Regions from separate parts of the Homo sapiens genome. Here region 1 is linked to region 2. Evidence: promoter capture Hi-C in 16 types of primary human blood cells and fetal thymus (Javierre and others, 2016). All regions are on one chromosome and are shown on one strand. The core of a region is centred on a gene start or on the middle of the fragment in contact, and the rest is flanking DNA. Distances in the headings are between cores, read along the strand shown. Region 1 has its middle 7.4 kb from the start of APOBEC3B-AS1. Region 2 holds the start of CBX6 (chromobox 6).

Region 1 (2,852 bases), core at 93-2,592, 130 kb before region 2:
CTGGGATTAGTGCCTGGTCCTAAGATGCTATTTTAATAGCATATGCTTTCTGTTTTTTATGATTGAGATGGTCATGTGGTTTTTCTCCTTTAATCTATTGATATAGTTGCAATATCATTCTGTTTGACAAGTAGTAGTGGCTTGTGATTTGGATTGACTATCAAAAGAGACGTGATAGGCTTCACCCAGTATGCATTTCCTTGGCTTTAAGAAAAGATACAGGACAGGTGGGACAACGTGTGTAACAGCACAGAGCGGAAGTCTCAGGACTCCCACGTGTAGCTTCTGAGGCCCCTTGTCACTCACGCACACGGACACTTGGTCCTGAGGCTGAGGGAGTGTGGACCTGCCCAGCTCCGGGAAGCCATCAGCTCTGGGGCCTGCAGATTAAATACCTTTCTGTTTTTTTTTTTTTTCTTGAGACTGAGTCTCGCTCCATCACCCAGGCTGCAGTTCAGTGGCACGATCTCAGCTCACTGCAACCTCTGCCTCCTGGGTTCAAGTGATTCTCCTGCCTCAACCTCCTGAGTAGCTGGGATTACAGGTGCGTGCCAACACACCTGGCTAATTTTTGTTTTTTGTTTTTGTTTTTGTTTTTTGAGATGGAGTCTCGCCCTGTCACCCAGGCTGGAGTGCAATGGTGTGATCTCGGCTCACTGCAACCTCCACCTCCCAGGTTTAACAGATTCTCCTGCCCCAGCCTCCCTAGTAGCTGGGATTACAGGCACATGCCACCACACCCAGCTAATTTTTTGTATCTTTAGTTGACATGAGGTTTCACCATGTTGGCCAGGCTGGTCTCGAACTCCTGACTTCAGGTGATCTGCCGACCTCGGCCTCCCAAAGTGCTGGGATTACAGGCATGAGACACCGCGCTCGGCCAATTTTTGTATCTTTAGTAGAGAGGAGTGTTTCACCATGTTGGCCAGGCTGGTCTTGAACTCCTGACCTCAGGTGATATGCCTGCCTCAGCCTCCCAAAGTGCTGGGATTACAGGCATGAGCCACCGCACCCGGCCAGATTTAATGCCTTTTTAGTCAGGGACTCTTCAGTTCCTGGGCTGCTGTGTCTCATTGACTGAAATTACTCATGAATTATAGTTTTTAAAAAATTGTTTTCTATTTTTGCCCAGTTGTAGCATCAGGGTTGTGATAAACCTCGGTCATGATTTGGGAAGCTTCCCATCATTTTCTTTTCTCTGGAATAGTCTCTGTAATGTGGAATGATCTGTTCATTGACAATTTGGTAGAAATTGCCAGTAAAACCATCAAGGCCTGAGGTTAGGTGAGGATTGGTTACCTTTTCAGTGTCCTCATTGATGATCGACCTAACTGAGTGATTTTTCTCCATTTTGTGTCAGTTTTGGTGATTCTTACTTTTATGGAATATTTATGTAAGTGTGCTAGAAGGCCAAGCACGACTTTTCCATCTGCCCTGGAATTGGTGGCCGGGAGTTAAAACCATGGTCAAAGAGAGATTATGTACCTAACATCCTACAGAAAGCTTCAGATGGGTGAGGGTCAGACAGATACACCACAGAAAGACTCACGACAAGGTCTTGTGAAGAGGCATTCAGCTTTGGCCGGGAGACCCCAGCAACAGGCAACAAGCAACGGCTGGGAATTAAGAGGGCTTGGGAAACTGAGTGTGTAGAAAAACACACAAACTCAAGCCGTGTTTTTCCTCTGCTCTCGCACCAACACAACAACAGTCAACACAGAAGACTTCTGTGACCAAATGTGGGGGATTTCTTCCCACCAACAAACAAGCAATCCATTCTTCAGCAGGCACCAGCCAGGTGTCCTCTCAGTCACATCCAACATTGCCTTGAGATGGTGTCAGATCTCACAGGTTGAGGGCCCAGTCCCCAAAACTGCCCCTGCTTTAGACACCAGTAGAAAGCTCAGACATCTGGAGTGTCTGACCAACAGGCTTCAAGTTGAGGTTCCCATGACCCATTCTTTGGGTTCAGTTAATTTGCTAGAGCACTACTCTGGAGGCTGAGGCAGGAGAATTGCTTGAATCCAGGAGGCGGAGGTTGCAGTGAGCCGAGATCGTGCCACTGCACTTCAGCCTGGGCAACAGAGCGAGACTCCGCCTCAAAAAAAAGAAAAAAAGATCATTGAGTTCTAAGTGTGCCTAATTCACACTATGATTTTGTCTTTAACGCGTGAATGATTTAGGAGCGATAACGTGCTACCCTAGCAAGAACGGGAATCGAGCTCAAATACGGACACCACCGTGTCTAGCAGCACAGCCTACCCTGAACTCATTGGAAATCGATATCCATTTGTCCCTTAAAATATTTTAAGTAATTTTGGAGAGATGTAGGAGAATAATGCTTTTTTCTTTTTTTTTTTTTTTGAGACAGAGTTTCATTGTTGTCACCCAGGCTGGAGTGCAATGGCACGATCTCGGCTCACTGCAACCTCCCACTCCTGGGCTCAAGCGATTCTCCTGTCTCAGCCTCCCGAGTAGCTGGGATTAGAGGCAGCTGCCACCACGCCCGGCTAATCTTTGTATTTTTAGTAGAGACGGAGATTCACCATGTTGGCCAGGCTGGTCTCCAACTCCTGACCTCAAGTGATATGCCCATCTTGGCCTCCCAGAGTGCTGGGATTACAGGTGTGAGCCACCGAACCCAGCAGAGAATAATGCTTTTTAAACATTTTTTTAATTTTTAAATTTTTAATTAATTAAATTTAATTTTTTAATTTTTTAGAGACAGGATCTTATTCTGTTGCCCAGGCTGGAGTGCAGTGATGGCTCACTGCAACCTCAAACTCCCCAGCTCAAGTAATCCTCCCAGCTTTGCCTCTTTTTTTTTTTTTTTGAGATGGAGTCTCGCTCTG
Region 2 (2,850 bases), core at 338-2,837:
ATTGGACAAATCTGCTGGGAGAAAAAGACTAACATTTTGCTATGGTGGATTTGAAACCCAAGAATTGGCATTGTAGCACAGAAACGCAAAAATCTTTCCTAATGAGCCATTGATGTTCGCAAGACACAACCCTGACTCTTCACAATCCCCATTCCTCCCCACCCCATCTCAGCCCCAAGGTGGTCACTGGAAGGATGGTGAAATCTGTATTTAATGACACTGAAAGATGTCCACTTTATAGCATTAAGGGAGAAAAGCAGATTCCAGAACAGTGTGAATAGCGTGATCCCATTTTGTTAAAAAATTAAATCTACAGACAATGTGTATGTGTATGTATATACATACATACATAGGTGTACGTGAGTTTATGTACGCATAGAGCAGAGGCTGGAAGATTGGTGAAGATGTTAACAATGGTTTTATGGGGGTTATGGACAGTTGTTTTATCTGTATTTTTAAAATTGTTTTACAAAGAACAAGACTACTAACATAATGGGAAATAAAGTTCAAGTAATTTCAACATTTAAAAAGTGGAGCGTTTTGCGCGGCAGGGCTATTTTTTGTGTGTCCGTTCCTGGACAGCCCCAGCTCGATCCCCCGCCCCTCCTCAAGTGGGAAGCTGGGATCTGGGCTCCCCAGAGCAATGGCGGAAGCTTCGCGCAGCTGCGGGCGGGGAGAGGGACGCGGCCAGGTCGGGGGGCCGGGAGGGGTGCTGGGAATCGGAAAACACAGATATGACCGCGAAGGCGGTTTCTGCCGAATGACCAGATGATGACCCGCTGTGGGCCCAAGGCGGAGTGCGGGGAGCCCGTTCCTGCCCGCGGTCCCTCTCCCTCCCCCACTGCCACACCGGCCCCGCCGAATCCTCCCCGGTCTCCTGGGCGAGGACAGGTGCCGCCCGAGACCCCGGCCGCAGACAGATGCCCACGGTCACTCCGGCCTTCCTCGGCCCCATTCGCCGCACACCCCCTTCCTGCGGTGGCGTTTTTGTTTTAACTCTTCTGAACTGGTTACAAAACCACCCTCCCACGAATACATAAATAATGGGTGGGGGGCGATGTTTTAAAGAAATTCCCGCAAGGCCTGGCAAGGCAACAGCAACTGCATTTCTGCTGCATCATATTTAACTGTTTGCAGGCTGCTGCGGGAGATGCGCGGTGGCGGCGAGACTCGGGCTCCACAGCCCTTCTCCGCCCGGGGCCTGGCGAGACTCGCGTGGGGATTAAGAGGCAAGGAGAGGGTGTCAGCGATCGGGCGCCGGCAAGATGTGAGGGGGGGTGATAAGCGTAAGGCCGCAGCGTGCCCACAAGCCGGGCACCCATCGGGTCGGCCGGCAATTGCTCCCTCCGCCCGCGCGGCCCCTTTAAGAGCCAGCGCGCGCCCCCGCCCCGCGAGCGCCGACTTTCCCTAGCAACCGCCCCGGGGGAGGGGGAGGTCCTGGCAACCGCGCGCCAGCCGCGAGGATCACGTGACGGCCCGCAGCTGGAACGCGAGCGCGCGCCCCGCCGCGCTCCCGCCCGCCGGGGCCTGGGCGCTGCGGCGCGTGCGCGAGCGGTGCCGCACCGGCCGCGGGCGCAGGGAGTATTATGGGCTGTGGGTGCCGCTGAGCAAGATGGAGCTGTCTGCAGTGGGCGAGCGGGTCTTCGCGGCCGAATCCATCATCAAACGGCGGATCCGAAAGGTGAGCCGCCGCCCGGGGCGGGCCGCCGCTGTCCGCAGCCGGGGCCGGGGCCGGGGGCCCTCGGGGCGAAGCGGTCCCGCTAGCCCGGCTCCCTCGCCCAGCCCCGCGCCGCCGCCTCCTCGCGTCCCCGCATCCTCCCCACCCCCACCCCCGTTTTTCTCCCCTCTGTTTTTCAGGGACGCATCGAGTACCTGGTGAAATGGAAGGGGTGGGCGATCAAGTGAGTGTCGCGGGGTCCGGGGGCGTCGCGGGAGGGGAGGCAGCGGGCACCGGGGCCTGGGGTGGGGGTGCGCGCTCTTGCTCTCGCCGCGTGCCTGTCCCTCTCTGGTCTTCATCCTGATTTTGTGCGTTTGTGACTCGGCAGGTACAGCACTTGGGAGCCCGAGGAGAACATCCTGGACTCGCGGCTCATTGCAGCCTTCGAACAAAAGTGAGTTGTTGGGGAAGCTGGCAGGGGCTGCGAGGCCGAGGCTCGGCTGGGGCGCCGCGCGGGGAAGCGGGAGAGCCGGGGAGGGCAGCGCGGAGTGGGGCCCGGGAAGGGGCTCTTTTTAACCTCTGGTGTTTTTCGGCCGCAGGGAGAGGGAGCGTGAGCTGTATGGGCCCAAGAAGAGGGGACCCAAACCCAAAACTTTCCTCCTGAAGGTAACCTGGCCCAGCCCCAGCAGCATCCCCCTCTCGGGCCCCCAGCCCCGGCACAGCACGGGGCCTGGAAGGGAGGGACAGATACGCGGCCGCCCAAGCGGGCCGGCCTTTTCAGAGGGGCCCCAGCTGGGCAGGGGGTGGTTGTGAGCCCCCCCAGAAGCCCCTGATGGCAGGCCTCAGCCAGCATCAGCTTCAACAAGAGGGTTTTGGGACTGGGGATAATCCTCCCTGTTGAAACCAGGGGCTGGGGATGCCTTTAGGGCTCCAGGAAAGGGGGTGGCTGAGGCAGGTGGGGGATGCCCATGGGAAGGGGGCATTTGTTTGAGCTGTTATGACTGTGCTGGGAGTTGGAACCCAGGGGGAGAGTGAGTGGGGTCCCACCTCCTGGCAGGGCACAAGGAGAGGATTTGGGGGACCACCTGCCTCCCTGCCCCCAGCTTCCCCCGTTCAGTCTTTCAGGATTTGTTCTTCATGGCTCCCCTCCTTTCTTGGGGATCCAACTTGAATTTGACCTCAAATCATTTTAC

The links. The method cuts DNA at HindIII sites, captures the fragments that hold promoters and counts their contacts. A CHiCAGO score of 5 or more calls a contact.
Region 1: a fragment that was not itself captured here is called in contact with the fragment with the promoter of CBX6 in region 2 in 1 of 17 cell types (M0 macrophages); the score reaches 5.4 in M0 macrophages.

Annotation. Positions count from the first base shown.
Region 1 is chr22:39,004,206-39,007,057 of GRCh38, reverse strand. No RefSeq gene overlaps it. Among named protein-coding and RNA genes, the nearest start is that of APOBEC3B-AS1, 7.4 kb to the right of the region's middle. The HindIII fragment of the contact is 326 bases long and covers 1,180-1,505 here.
Region 2 is chr22:38,870,953-38,873,802 of GRCh38, reverse strand. It overlaps CBX6 (chromobox 6), which reads left to right and starts at 1,587. Exons shown (of 5, transcript NM_014292.5): 1 at 1,587-1,681; 2 at 1,858-1,901; 3 at 2,046-2,111; 4 at 2,257-2,323. The coding sequence starts at 1,613. RefSeq lists enhancers at 1-444, 281-830, 831-1,381 and silencers at 1,376-1,635, 1,666-1,815, 1,916-1,965. The HindIII fragment of the contact is 16,779 bases long and covers 656-2,850 here.